Linked DNA regions of Homo sapiens: region 1 is linked to region 2. Evidence: promoter capture Hi-C in 16 types of primary human blood cells and fetal thymus (Javierre and others, 2016). All regions are on one chromosome and are shown on one strand. The core of a region is centred on a gene start or on the middle of the fragment in contact, and the rest is flanking DNA. Distances in the headings are between cores, read along the strand shown. Region 1 has its middle 26 kb from the start of OR9A2. Region 2 holds the start of ZYX (zyxin).

Region 1 (7,411 bases), core at 3,760-6,259, 380 kb before region 2:
CGGTGGCTCATGCCTGTAATCCCAACACTTTGGGAGGCCGAGGTGGGTGGATCATTTGAGGTCAGGAGTTTGAAACCAGCCTGGTTAATATGGTGAAATCCCATCTCTACTAAAAAAAATACAAAAATTAGCTGGGCATGGTGGCAGGCAATGGTAGTCCCAACTACTCAGGAGAATGAGGTGGGAGACTCGCTTGAACCCGGTAGGCAGAGGTTGGAACGAGCCGAGATCGCGCCACTGCACTCCAGCCTGGGCAACAAGAGCAAAACTCTGTCTCAAAAAGAAAAAAAAAAAAAGAATAAAGGTTGTAGTCTGCAATATTTTGAATATTATCAGTTTATTTTTAGATTCACGTATCATCATTACATTGCATTGAAATAAAAGGTGGAAGCAAGTAACTGTGTTGGCTTGTTTACCAGTTTTTTTTTTTCTATTATTGGTCAGTATGTTTCTGGATGTGAACGTCTGATACCCAACCCGAACTAATTTAGTCAAGAAGATAATTTTTTTCCTATGTAACCACAAGAAAGGAAGAGGAGCAGTGGTATAGCTGGACTATTTTGCCCTCAACTCCTTATCATAGCTTCTTTCTAACACTGGCTCCATTATCTCTTCTGCAACCTGGCTTCCTCCACGTGGGTGCTCTAGGAATGCACCTTTGAGTCCCAATATCAACAAAGGAATGACACTCCTTCTCCTCCAAGTCCAGTTTGGCATATGCTGAGGGAGAGCTGTGATTGGTCTTGCTTGAGTCAGGTAGACACCAACACCACCTCTTATCACTGGGGTGAAGTGGTGTCTAAATGGTTGGCCCAGTTTGAGTTATGTGTGCACCTTCAGGCCTATCATCACTTGTGGTCAGGTGCATAGACTGGGAAGGAAAATCACATATTCTTAAGCCAAATGTTTGCAAAGGTGAAAGGAGCATTTCCCAAGGGAAAAAGTTGCTCCCTCAGAGAAAGGAGGAAGGCATTCTAGGCAGATAAAACAATTCCTATTCATTATAATAACTTTTAATCATTTGACACCACCTATTCAGAAATTCTCTTTATATCCAAGACAGATTATTATACACCATTCTCAAGTTTTGTCATTTTTAATGCTTTATTTTAATCCAATTATAGTTTGGGTTTGATTTCCTAGTCTATCCCATCAATTAACTTTTCAAGGTTAACAACAATAATCTTCTTTATAGACACTTTAAAAATAACTTTACAAAATCAAGAACTACAGCTATGCATAAAGTAATGTGAACATTTCTGGCCCGTTGTCCATTCACCCCATATCTTCAGCCAAGTGATATAACAGGTCAATGGGTATCTTTCTAACCCTTTTCCTAATCATATCCTAAGACACACAGACACACACACACACACACACAGAAATGTTTTTAAACAAAATATATGATACCTTGTATGGTATTCTATAGCTTTCTTTTTATTTATTTTAAAGTAGTCAATTTTATATATCAATATATATAGTATTCCCCACTTCTATTTAATGGTTACGTAGTAAGTATTCCATTTAATAAATACAACAGAATTTATTTAATCAGTTCCCTTTCCTTAGACACTTAAGCTGCTTCCAGTTGCATTCTTTTATTTTATTTATTTTTATTTTTTTGAGACAAAGTCTTACTTAGTTGTTCAAGCTGGAGTGCAGTGGTGTGATCACACTTCACTGAAACCTTGACCTCCCAGGGTCGATCCTCCCACCTCAGCCTCCTGAGTAGCTGGGACTACAGGTGCCCGCCACCAAGCCCAGCCAATTTTTAAAATTATTTGTAGAGATGAGGTCTTCCTATGTTGTCCAGGCTGGCTTTAAACTCCTGAGCATAAGCATTCCTTCCGCCTCGGCCTCCCAAACTGCTGGAATTATAGGCGTGAGCCACTGCACCCAGCCAAGTTGAATTATTTTAAAGCAAAAGATATATATGTTTCCAACAAGGGATATATGTGTTTCCAACAAGGGTGTATGTGTCCTTTTGTACATATCTCCGCACCCTCGCATCCTCGTGTAAGTACATTTAGAAAAACAATTCCTGGAAATGGATAGCTGGGTCAAAGAGTATGCCAGCAATAGTCCTAATCACTCTGTTAAATGGTTAATCATTATGTTACCACCTCTTTTATTCTAACCTGTCCTAGATTAATGACTGCTACAATTCCTCTCATTTATTTGCTAAAACATATTACCCATTCTTTAAATTTTGACTGTGATTGTTGGAGTCATTCCACTGTAGAAAAGTTAGAAGTTTCTCCTGAGCTCTTATAAAGTTGTTTTCTTGTACAAGAATAATTTTCCTGACTCCCTTTTTGCATATCTACTGCCAATTTTTGATACTGATGTTTTCATTTGTGTTCAATAGAAAAAGAAATCTCTGACCAATTACTCTGGCATTTGGTGATATCTTCAGTTAAGCATTTAAAAATATACTCCAAAACACCACCAACCTGAAATGTGTTATTCCATTTTCCAGAGACTCTAAGTTTTAGACTTAATCATCAAAAGTTTTTATATTTTATTTAAATGTTAGGCATGAAAATCAGTCTTAATAGATTCTATTGAGCATACCTGAATGTCTTCTTGGTTTCTCAAGACGATCATTAGGATGCCACTGTCATATATACATGATCTCAGAGAAGGTTTGCTCCTGCACTAAATGAACAAAAATGTCTTAAGTCCTTTGGTCAGCTTTGTACAGTTGGTTTTTAATTTCTCTCAACATGTCTCTTGATTGAGAGCTAACACACTGCTTGTTGTTTTCAGTAGACCTGTCTTTTCTTATCTCCTTTCTATGAGTAAATCATTTTATCAAGCTTATTTCCAATAAATAAACAAACAGATAAAAGGGACTCTAACAGACTTCCTGTGAGTAAAGTGGCTAAGCTTTATGTGGTTCATGGACTTTGTAACATTTATTTTGTCTGCTTGCTGGTTTATTTTGCTATTTTCTGATTCCTAGCTATGTTCTAGAAAGACTACATAGTTGAGTTTTGGATTAATAAGATATATATGTTAATTATAACACTTAGAGAATCAGGATCATATAGTACCCCAAATACAGATGTTTTTAAAAGTGCCAGAATATCAAAAGAAGATATAACTATATTCAAATATTAAAGCATCAAAGCATAATATACTTCCATGGTTCAAAATTTTAAAGGATACTTTGAAACACTTTTCTATCTGATCCTCCTCCCTCAAGGCAACCAATGTTATCACTTTCTTCTGTGTCTTTACAGAGGTAATTTTAAGCATATACGTCTGCATAAGCAAATGCATACAAGCACATTTTCTTTTTGTACAAATGGTAGTATATCGAACATATGTCCTATGCAGTACAGATCATTGTATATTTATACATAAGACATTCTTGGTTCTTGTTTCCTTTTTTAATAACTCCAGATTATTCCACCAAATGGAATACATACATTATTTCCCTGTACACAATATCTAAATGACAATTTCTAGAAGAGGAATTGCTAGGCCAAAGCGTAAAAGCATTTGTCACTTTAATATATATTACATAATTGCCCTTCATGCAGGCTATTACATTTTACACTACCTATTTTCACGCAGTGTACTATAAAACTTTTTGACATTTGCCAGTTTAATAACTGAAAATAGTATCTTAATATGGCTTTAATTTTTATTGTTCTCCTTATGAATGAAGATGAAAATATTCTCACATGTGCTTATCTTTTGCCCATTTTTCTGCTGAGTAGTTTTATTTTTTTCTTATAGGAGCTTTTTACACATGATGCAAACTAACCTTTTGTGATATGAGTTGAAATTGTTTTCTGGTGTTTTCGTGTGTCTGTTTACCTTGGGGTAGTATTAACCATAGCAAATTTTTAAAAAATTCTTCATAAAGTCAATCTTCTATGACATCTGTGTTTTAAGTCATCCTAAGAAAGGTCTTACCCATTTTTATAAACATTCTTTTATTTCTTATGTTAAATCTATGTTTTTTTTTTACATTTAAATATTTGACCCATTTTAAACAGCCTGGTATGACATAGGCAGTAATGGAATTAACTTTTGTTTTTTAGGTAGCTGCTAGTTTGTTTGACCATTTATTGAATAATTCATTTTTTCCCAATGATAGTACTGTTTACATTATAGCTATATAGTCTGTTTTACAGATGTAGTTATTCCTCATTATGCTTCTATTTCAGAATGTTTTTGAAAATTTTTTGCTTGTTTATTTTTCCATAATAAAAAGTTTAATCTAAGCTGGGCACGATGGCTCACATGTGTAATCCCAGCTATTCAGGCGGCTGAGGTGGGAGGATCACTTGAGTCCAGCAGTTCAAGTCTGTAGTGAGCTATGATCATGCCACTACACTCCAGCCTGGCTGACAGAGCAAGACTCTGTCTCTAAAAATATAAATGAATGAAATAATGCATGAATAAAATGTAATCTGCTTCTCTAGATTTAAAAAATACTATTGATTTTTAAATTGTGATTGTATCATTTTTATGGATACACTTAGAGGAGAATTGATATCTTTGTATTGTTTACTCCACCTTTCCATTTGCTCAAATCTACTTTTGTGTCTTTCAGGAGCATTTTTTTAAATGTCAATCTAGTTTAAATGTAAATCTTTACTTGTTAAGCTTATTCCTAATAATGTTATATTTCTTTGCTTTTGCTTTTGTAAATGAGGTTCTTTCCTTCCATTATATTTTCTAACTTAATGTGTTTTATATGTGAAGTCTTTTGACTCTCAATATAAATTTTGTGCCCAGCCACATTGGTTTTTTACTTTATTTTGTTGAGATTTCCAGATAAACAAATTATTTAAAATTCATGTTAATCTTTTTTTCTCCTCCTTTTTAACATCTTGGCCCTGCATTTTTTTTCTCTTGTCTAATTGCATAGGCTAACATGCCAGAAATTTTAATTAGTTTACATAGAGATGCAGTACATAAATTTAAATTGAAGATCTGTCATTACATAAGACAAAGGGTATGTGTGTTATTATTTATTTTAGATTGGTCCATCCTCTCACCAGGAGCTCAGGCAGCTGTTAAACTCTGGAAAGAGGGCCTAAAAAAGATAGGGGTATGGATAATGGAAGCCCTGCATAAATTCTAAGCAAAGTGGCAGAAAGCACTTTCTAACCCACCATCCTGCCTCGAGGGAGGGCAAAGACTGATGTTAATGTCTTTGCTGACCTCTTCTGGCAAATCTGAAGTTAGCCAGAAGATGGAAGATTTGATTGGTTATTTTTTTCACTTCGATTTCATATGATCACAAAGTCCCTGGGTTTGCCTGATTCGCCTGTTTGAAAAGATTTTTCAATATCCCAGAAGTTGTTTTTAAAGTCCACACTTTCTTTAACCTCTCAGTATTCTTCTTTTCTTCCTCCTCTTTTATAAAATATTCAAAGCTTTATCTCCCTTCCTTCTCTCACATTTTTGGCTGTTCAAATATCTCTTATCCACCATTATCTTCCCCAATTGACTTTATTTCTGAGCTCCAAATTCATGCAGTCCTTGGAAACAGGGCAAATAAATGGGAAGTCAGTTTGCATGTGAAAACTGATCAGCTTGGCTGGAACAGTTTCAGTGGACAGTGGCAAGGAGAATCCAACTTGCTGCGGATTAAAAAAAAATGCATGGGAAGTATGGAAATAATAACAGTGGGTATGTACTTGTATTTCAAAAGCTTTGCAGGAAAGGAGATATAAGATTGGATGGTAACGTAATGGTTAAACAAGGATAAGAAAAGGGCATTCGTTCATTCATTCACTCATTGTTTAGGGTGTGCAGTGGCCCTGCAAATGCCCCTCTCACATCTCTAACGACAGGGAGCATAGCTGACTGGCAGCCCTAGCTGCTATGCTCCAAAATCCTTCTCATGTCTTAGTTAGGTCATGCTTCCCACAGACTGCTCCTAGCTAATGACTGTGGCTGGCAGGGAGCCACTCAGGTAAGCAATGTAAACTCAAGAAGAACTCGGTGCACTTGTTGGACTTTGTTAGAGCTGCACTGCAATCGCAGACTCTTCCACTCAGTCTTCCCACCTTGACTCTCTCCTTCATAATGCTCACGCCCCCATCACTATCTGATGGCTCTCGCTGCCTTCCCAATGCCAGGCTTCTTCCTTCTTCTCCCTCTGTATTTTCCCAAAGAAATTGCTCAGACTTCTGATCCTGCTGGGTGTCTCCTTCTTGGAAGACTCAGCCTACCACAGAGTGGAATAGCCTGGAGCAGGTTTGTAGGGTAAGAGTAGAGGTGAGAAAAGAGTGCTTTACTTCCCATTTCTCAATTGCAGATTTCTTCCCAAATTTTCTAGTCTTTGTCTGTCTGCCAGACTGGTGTGCTGCTGTCTTGCTACACCTTCCCGTCTTTGCATTTTCCTGATGTGACCCTTTACCTTGTCCCAATTCTGAACTTTCTATCTAGCTTTCAACCTAGGTAGACCAAAGGCATCTGAGCAACATCGGTGTACTCCGAGGAAGGCAGCCATCTTCTCCTAGGGTTTTGTTTCGGCTGCTGAAATATTGCCCTCTTGTGGTTGCCTCTATAATGACATATGAAAATTAACATTTTCATATGTCATAGAATTTCAAGGCCACAAGAAATAGGCATTTAGTACCAAAATAATTTAAAGAAGTGCCAGACACAGATCTGTAAGACATTAAAAATGCCATGACAATCCATTGGCCTTTGTTTCACCAGCAACCCATGCTATAAAGAAAAAGAGTGTTTACTAGAGGGAGGAAATTCACGGGAGTAGAGTTTTATAGCTCCTTCTCCCACATGCCCTAGGCAAGGAAAGGCCGTCTCCAAGAGGCTTAGGTCCTTTACTTATCCTATAGAAGTTAGGTCTGTTTCTTAGCCACTTCCTGGTTGAACACAAAGTCCCAGAAGACCCACCCTGGTGCCCCTAGGGGAGTGACATGGTGAGAGAAACTCAGGAAGCAATGTAGCCAAACCCAGGTTCAGCTGCTCACTGCTCAAAAGCCCAGCATGAGACACGAATTGGTGGGAGGAAAAGCATGTTCATTCGGAGAGCCAGCAAACCGAGACGATGATGGAATTGCATCTTAAAGTACCATCTTAAGTCGGTACAAATTGTACCCTTTTTATGTTAATGCTGGAGGAGGAGGAGGGGGTTGGGATGGAGAGGTGACCAATGACCTCAGACATCCGGGCACCAGCGAGGGTCTGAGGAGGCGGGGAACTTTCTTGTCTTCGGTCAGGTCATGATGCTCCTATAAATCTTTAACAAAACTTCATGCAATTGTTTACATAAGTCTCCTTTAATCCCAGAGTTAGTTTTTAAAACTACATGATTGCCGTTTTTGCGTAATATCTCAGTGCTCTAAAATTATCCTAGCCTACATGCAGGCATGGGTAAAGGTCCCTGAAACAAAAATGGAGTTAGTTATGTTAG
Region 2 (7,610 bases), core at 3,374-5,873:
GGCCAGTGGGATGAGAGGGGCAGTAAATCTGGGAGCAAGTGGGAAGCTGCAGGCCGAGTGCACACAGTACTCAGCGCAAGGGAGGTGCTCCAATATCAGGAAAAAGATACAACGGCTCTTTCATTTCTCTCCTTTCTTTTTTCAGATTATAAAGTAATACATGTTCACAGGGACAAAATACAAAAGTATAAAAGCCTTCTGTCCTCCTCAATCTACTCCCTAACATTAACTACTGTTAACAATTCTTTTTTATTTGTTTATTTTTTTGACACACAGTCGCATTCCTCGCCCAGGATGGAGTGCAGTGGCACGATCTCGATCTCGGCTCACTGCAACCTCCACCTCCTGGTTCAAGCAATTCTCGTAGCTGGGATTACAGGCGCACACCACCAACCCGGCTTATGTTTGTATTTTTTCTAGAGACGGGGTTTCTCCATGTTGGCCATGCCTAGTCTTGAACTCCCGGCCTCAAGTGATCCTCCCACCTCAGCCTCCCAAGGTGGTGAGATTACAGGCATGAGCCACTGCGCCTGGCTGTGCTGTTAACAATTCTTGACATCTTCTGGAAATGTGCTATTTTACAAAAGCACGTATACATATAGCTTGCATATACAAAATGTGTGTATGTGTTCACATGCAGATAGATATATAAACAGACAGAATTTGATGGTGTCATGAGACAGAAAGAGAAAATGGTAGCCCACAGGTATAAAGTAGGGGTGTTGGGGTGAAGGCAGACTTGAAAGGGGCTGTTGATGGACCAGGTAGGAGGGCCTGAGGAGAAGTGATGGAATACAAGGATGGAAGCAAGGATGGGGCAGGAGAGTCTTAATATTTGTGTTGCAAAAAAATTTTGCAGTTTAGGAGGTGAGAAATCCAACATCCAGTTAGCCTCAGTTTCCTTAACTAAAAAATGGGATAATGATGTATATTCCTCACAGGTTTATAGTGATGATTAGAAGGGGCGAATATATATATAAACAAACATACATATATGTTTGTTTGTTTTTTGGACAGAGTCTCGATCTGTCACCCAGGCTGGTATGCAGTGGTGCGATTTTGGCTCACTGCAACCTCCGCCTCCCAGGTTCAAGTGATTCTCCCATCTTAGCCTCCTGAGTAGCTGAGACTACAGGCACGTGCCACCACGCCCAGCTAATTTTTGTATTTTTAGTAGAGATGGGGTTTCACTATATCTTGGCCAGGTTGGTCTTGAACTCCTGACCTCAGGTGATCCACCCACCTTGGCCTCCCAAAGTGCTGGGATTACAGGCGTGAGCCACTGTGCCTGGCCAGGGCTAATATATTTAAAGTGCTTAGCATTGCACCTCAAACAATATTCTAAGCATTCTCTCAGCGTGTGCTGCTATTATAGTTGTTGATGTTATTAGGGTGCTGCTATTGTTGCTGTTTTCAGAATGCTTCACGTGGTCCCTGGCCCGTGAGTGAACCTCTATCCATCTGCAGTTGGCATATGGAAAGAACCTCCTGGTCACATTTCTCTTTCCATTTTAGAAATCATTCTTTTGTTGTGACACTGTCTTTTCATTTTCCTTCCCTGACTGCTCTTAACTTCCTACTTTATGCTGTGCACTCTTGAAGAAAACTTTCTGGTACCTGATGGTTATAAATCCTTGGAGGCGCGTGAAGATGTTTTAGGTAGTAAAGGGCAGTGGCCATTTTCTCACTTTGTCTCCCTGGCCTGGTCTTAAGCTGTTGGGCATTCTTTAGTCAGGAACATCTTCTTATTTGCTGTACTTCACACATACTGCCTAAGGATATCAATTAGAATTGCTTACTTAAGAAAAATGCCCAGCAATCGTTAAGGCCACTCTTGTTCATTTCCTGCATTTTTTTTTTTTTTTTTTTTGAGATGGAGTCTCACTCTGTTGCCCAGGCTGGAGTGCAGTGGCGTGATCTTGGCTCACTGCAACTTCCGCCTCCTGGGTTCAAGCGATTCTTCTCCTGCTTCAGCCTCCCCAGTAGCTGGGACTACACGCTCCCGCCACCTCACCAGGCTAATTTTTGTATTTTTAGTAGAGACTGGGTTTCACCACGTTGGTCAGGCTTGTCTCAAACTTCCGACCTCAAGTGATCTGCCTGCCTTGGCCTCCAAAGTGCTGGGATTACAGGCGTGAGCCACTGCGCCCAGCCCATTGTCTTCATTTTAAGAGCACTGACTCTGCTGCTCCTCTTGAGACATCTTGGGCAGTGATTCTGTTCTTCTGGGATACTCTGGGTGTTTCTACTTGTATTTAGAATGGCTGGCTTAAAAGTCTTTGTTTGAATATTCCGCATTCTGAATGCTCTTAGTTGTCAGTAAAACTATGCCTGCCTACGCACTCTTCTATTTCTGATTTAAAAATAGGTTCAGCTGCCTAACAATTACACATACTCTATTTTGCACGCGCACATTACTTAAGGAGACATTTAGAGGGTAGATAGCTTTTATTCCTATGAGTTATCTTGAAATCATCTTCTTAACTATCTTTTTTTCCCCAAAGGGGCCATATTTTGAAGGATTTGTGATGAGACTTTTGGTCTGTGAAGCCCAAGACACAATCTCCAACATGCACAGGAAATCCAGTATCAAATTTCTAACATGTCTTCAGAGACAGGCCCAGGGCTGGCTTGAGCGTGTCAGAGAGGTGTGCACTGCGTACTACCCATCATACATGGCCACACATGCCTGTGGCTGTGAGAAATACTGGTGGTGACAAAGACAATGAGATGCCAGAGAAAAAGATCAGTGGGGTTTGCAAAAGTGATTAAGATGTCGTCCTAGGTATAATTAAAGACTTAATAAGGTTGAAGGAAAGAGAGGACATTGCACATACCGAGGCCCCTGAGAGATCTGCCTGGCAACCCAGAAAGGGACATATGGGGGAAAACGCCTTAGTGTAACCAGGTCAGAATTTTCATTCTGGGCAGAACTGGAATTTGAATAATAATACTGAGTCATATAGCGCATACAGCTATGACATTTCATTTATTTCTCTATATAATGCAATAAAGTAGATGGATTAACCGTGACGTTTACAGATGGAGCAGGGGAGAATGAAGAGGCGTCAGTTTGGGCATCAGGCTGGATCTTCACACTCTGACCTCACTCTGCTCTATCCTGCCCAGTGTTGCTTCACCTGATATCAGGGGTGCAAGGCAACCAGATCTGACACCAGTTTCAGTTTAGATCCTGCCTTTACCTGGGTGTGACCCGGGTCCATCTCTTCAGCTCGGCCTCTGCTTTCTCTTCATAAACTTTTGGGGTTAGTCCTCGGATGATCTCTAAAACATGGCCCAGGTGCTCCTTGCCAGTAGAGTGTAGCCGGATTTGGAGGGACTGGACACTCAGTGTGAACAAGACGAAGGCCTCAGGAGGCAGTAAAAGCTGACAAGAGGAGAGAAAATGAAGCGCCTACGGGTGCATACTGGACTAGCGGGCGAAAGGCCATGACTCCTTAGTTTGGAGAAAGAACTGGGGCCGAGATTGGGGAAGTTTCCCAGTGCAATTAAAAAAAAAAAAAAAAAGAACTAGAAGAATTACCCAGGTCTGGCTTCTTTCGTGTAGCCTGGGGCTGAGTCGCAGGCTGAGAAATCCAGTCTGGCCAGTAGGGGGCTCCACCAAGCGCAGTCTCAGAATGCCCAAGAGCTCCACCGTCGCCCGGGGTCTCCACCAAGCGCAGTCTCAGAATGCCCAAGAGCCCCACCGTCGCCCGGGGTCTCCAAGAGGAGTGGGTCGTGGTGGGCGTTGAAGGGCCGTAAAAGACGAGCAGCCCGCGTCCGCGTCCGTCCTCCCGGGTCTCCAGTCCGCAGGCGGCCGCCGCCTCGGCCCCGCCCTCCCACCTCCATTCCCGGCCCCGCGGACCCGAACGGTCCCTCTCGCAACCGATCTGCTGGCTGGGGCGCTGGGGATGCGAATTCCTAGAAGCCTTAAGAGGCTGCCCAGCGTTGGAAGTTCGTATCCCCAAGAATGCTGGAGGTTCCGGCTCACACACCCCCTCCGGGCACAGAGTCAGCTGGGGGGTGCTGGGAGGGAGAACGCCCCGCTCCTCACCCCCCATCCCCGTGCACCCTGGAGCCCAGCTCCATACGTTCGGCCACCCCAGGCGGACTCGGGGTGGCCGGGTAGCGGGTGGTGGCAGGAGGGGACCGGGTAACGGCAGGCCCGAGAGGAGGTCGCTGGGCCGGGCCGGAGGCGCACAGGGGCTGCGTGGCTACCTCGGCGGCACCCGCCCCACCTCCGCCGGCTAAGCCCGGAGGGGGACGGTGAGTCAGATCTCGGGCACCCGCGGGTCGGGCGGGGAGGGGGAGGCAGGTCAGGAAATGACATCAGAGGCCTGTGCTCAGGGAGTGGGGGTCTGAGCCGGGCTGGGGCGGCGGGGGCGGCAGTGAGTGGGGTGGGGGCGAGCGGACCTCGGCGGAGCCTCCGGCCTGAGGCAGGATCAGGGCCCCTTCCTGGGGGAGTTTCCTGCCTGGTCCGCCCTTCCCCGCTCTCCCCGCCCCCTCTCCGGGCCGCTCCTTGTATGGTCTGGGCGCCGCTCTCTCCCCGCCCCCTCTCTTCTCCCTCCCTCCTCCTTCCGTGTGTCCCTCCCCGCCCGGCTGGAGGCTGCTCCGGACCGGGACGCAGAGTCTGCGGACCCGGCGCCGAGGCGGCCACCCGAGACGCGGCGCGCACGCTCCGGCCTGCGGTGAGGCGCGGGGAGCGGCAGGGCGGCCCCACGGGGAGGGGGCGCGGGGCGCCGGGAGGGGGCGAGTGGGGGTCACCAAGGGGAGCTGGGACCGCCTGGGGCTCCTGAGCCCGGCTCCGCGCTGCGTAACCCGGCGACCCACCCCAGCAGCCCGGCCCGGCCATGGCGGCCCCCCGCCCGTCTCCCGCGATCTCCGTTTCGGTCTCGGCTCCGGCTTTTTACGCCCCGCAGAAGAAGTTCGGCCCTGTGGTGGCCCCAAAGCCCAAAGTGAATCCCTTCCGGCCCGGGGACAGCGAGCCTCCCCCGGCACCCGGGGCCCAGCGCGCACAGATGGGCCGGGTGGGCGAGATTCCCCCGCCGCCCCCGGAAGGTATGCGGCGGGGCTTGGGGAATGTACCCCGGCAGGAGCCGGGGTGGGGGGCAGTCGTTTCGGGAATTTGGGGATGTCTGGAAAGGTTGTTGCCGAGGGGGCTGGGCGCAGCCACCCTGTCCCGAGCAGATGTTCTTACCTCATCGTGGAGCTCGTGGCTGGGAGCCAGGGCTCCTGGGACCGTTCCAAGTCCCCCGCCTGGGAGTGGGAGTCGGGAATGTGGGGCACGAATCTTCCCCTCCGGGTCCGTTTTCCGAAGTGTAACGGGAGCTGCACCACTCCTCGGCAGTGCGCCCGGCCTTTCCTGACCTGGTACTCCCAGGGCGCCCTGCGCCCCTCCTTTGCTTCCCCACACGCTCTGGGACCCCTGAGAGAGTTCTTGGGTTAGGGGTTAGAGCGGTTAACTGAGGGGAGCTTGGGTGAGGGGTAGAGGGACCCCGGCCGACGTCTTTCTCCTTCCTACCCCAGACTTTCCCCTGCCTCCACCTCCCCTTGCTGGGGATGGCGACGATGCAGAGGGTGCTCTGGGAGGTGCCTTCCCGCCGCCCCCTCCCCCGATCGAGGAATCATTTCCCCCTGCGCCTCTGGAGGAGGAGATCTTCCCTTCCCCGCCGCCTCCTCCGGAGGAGGAGGGAGGGCCTGAGGCCCCCATACCGCCCCCACCACAGGTACGGAGGCCTGGGAGGGGCGGCTGCACTGGACACCCCCAAGGAGAGGAGAAGAGGGCCCTTTCTTCTTACCTCCCCTGCACCTCTGCCTTGGGGGTGGGGGGATAGAGGCATGGAATAGGTGCTCTGACCTCTGACCCTCTAGCCCAGGGAGAAGGTGAGCAGTATTGATTTGGAGATCGACTCTCTGTCCTCACTGCTGGATGACATGACCAAGAATGATCCTTTCAAAGCCCGGGTAAGGGACCGGAGAGTAGGAAAAGCAGGGCTCAGGGCCAGAGAGACTGGGCATAGAACTAAGGAGGATGGTGTCCTCCTGACTGCATCTCTCTTCCCTCTCCCACCCCTTGCAGGTGTCATCTGGATATGTGCCCCCACCAGTGGCCACTCCATTCAGTTCCAAGTCCAGTACCAAGCCTGCAGCCGGGGGCACAGCACCCCTGCCTCCTTGGAAGTCCCCTTCCAGCTCCCAGCCTCTGCCCCAGGTTCCGGCTCCGGCTCAGAGCCAGACACAGTTCCATGTTCAGCCCCAGCCCCAGCCCAAGCCTCAGGTCCAACTCCATGTCCAGTCCCAGACCCAGCCTGTGTCTTTGGCTAACACCCAGCCCCGAGGGCCCCCAGCCTCATCTCCGGCTCCAGCCCCTAAGTTTTCTCCAGTGACTCCTAAGTTTACTCCTGTGGCTTCCAAGTTCAGTCCTGGAGCCCCAGGTGGATCTGGGTCACAACCAAATCAAAAATTGGGGCACCCCGAAGCTCTTTCTGCTGGCACAGGCTCCCCTCAACCTCCCAGCTTCACCTATGCCCAGCAGAGGGAGAAGCCCCGAGTGCAGGAGAAGCAGCACCCCGTGCCCCCACCGGCTCAGAACCAAAACCAGGTGAGGGATGGTGATAGGACAAGGCTTGGTACCAGGGCACTGGGGCGGGGCTGGGTCAGGAGCCAGAGCATAAGCATAAGGTGATTGGAGAGTCAGGGTGGACACGGGGGTTGCGGGGTGGCGGGATAGGAATTTTCATCCTCTGGGGTTAGCCTGGTGGAACAATGGTAGGAAAATGCTCCTCTGGAGGAGAGGCCTGGCTGGGTGTGGGGCTGGGTGGGGCCTGGCTGGGACGGCGCAGAGAGCATGGGCTCTGAATTAGGAGGATCTGGTGGACCTTTCCTTGTGCCTTTACCCCAGAAAGTTAAAGGGAGGGATGAGATCACCAGTTCCACCTTGGTTTTTCCCATTCTTGGGTCTTGAGTTAATCTCCCTGCTCCTCTGAGCACTCTTTCTGCCTGAGGGCTTGGAGGTAAGAGACAGCCCCAGTAAACACTGGTTGAGCCAGCATCCACCACGTGCCAGGCACTGTGCTCTGTGCCCAGGAGGGTAGGACATGGGAGGGAAGAGATCTCTGCAAGAAGCTCAGCCTTCAGGTGTCAGATGGACCTGGAATGGAATTCTTGGCTCAGCTTCTCCCAAGTCCTTAGACTGGGCAAGTTAGGTGAACCCTGAGCCTCAGTTTCTCAATCTTTAACATTCTCTACTCCATACAGTGGTTGTGAAGATTGGGTGAGCTAATACCTAGAGAGTGTTGGGTTCTGTATCTAGTACAGGAATGCTCAAAATAGAAAAGCTGTAATTACAAAATGGTTCTTGCCTTCTAGTTCAGGAAATAAGATCGTCCAATTTCTGGTGACGAAGATGACCCTGATGGTCATCTAGTCCAAGCATCCAGAGTCCACTGATAGTGTTGATGTCTACCTACACTCGGACACAGCATAGGAAGAAATGCCAAGGGCCAGTGAGCTTTGCAGAATCCTGTGAGTCACAGGCACTCAGACCAGGGAGTCAACTCGGGGAGTCAAATTAGGAAAGGCTTCGAAGGATGGGCAGGACGTAAGAATCC

The links. Contacts are between HindIII fragments. The CHiCAGO score rates a contact against its expected background, and 5 or more counts as called.
Region 1: a contact is called between a fragment that was not itself captured here and the fragment with the promoter of ZYX in region 2, in 4 of 17 cell types (neutrophils, monocytes, naive CD8 T cells and 1 more). The highest score is 7.9, in neutrophils.

Annotation. Positions count from the first base shown.
Region 1 is chr7:142,997,123-143,004,533 of GRCh38, forward strand. No RefSeq gene overlaps it. Among named protein-coding and RNA genes, the nearest start is that of OR9A2, 26 kb to the right of the region's middle. The HindIII fragment of the contact is 776 bases long and covers 4,622-5,397 here.
Region 2 is chr7:143,376,722-143,384,331 of GRCh38, forward strand. It overlaps ZYX (zyxin), which reads left to right and starts at 4,624. Exons shown (of 10, transcript NM_003461.5): 1 at 4,624-4,688; 2 at 4,836-5,058; 3 at 5,527-5,726; 4 at 5,872-5,964; 5 at 6,080-6,601. The coding sequence starts at 4,851. It overlaps FAM131B-AS2 (FAM131B antisense RNA 2), which reads right to left and starts at 4,304. Exons shown (of 2, transcript NR_161353.1): 1 at 3,545-4,304; 2 at 2,434-3,388. MIR6892 (microRNA 6892) reads left to right here and starts at 5,965; the gene lies at 5,965-6,079. It also overlaps a transcript of FAM131B not described here. RefSeq lists enhancers at 3,184-3,263, 3,420-4,320, 3,444-3,533 and silencers at 4,034-5,063, 5,094-5,143. The HindIII fragment of the contact is 8,995 bases long and covers 1-7,610 here.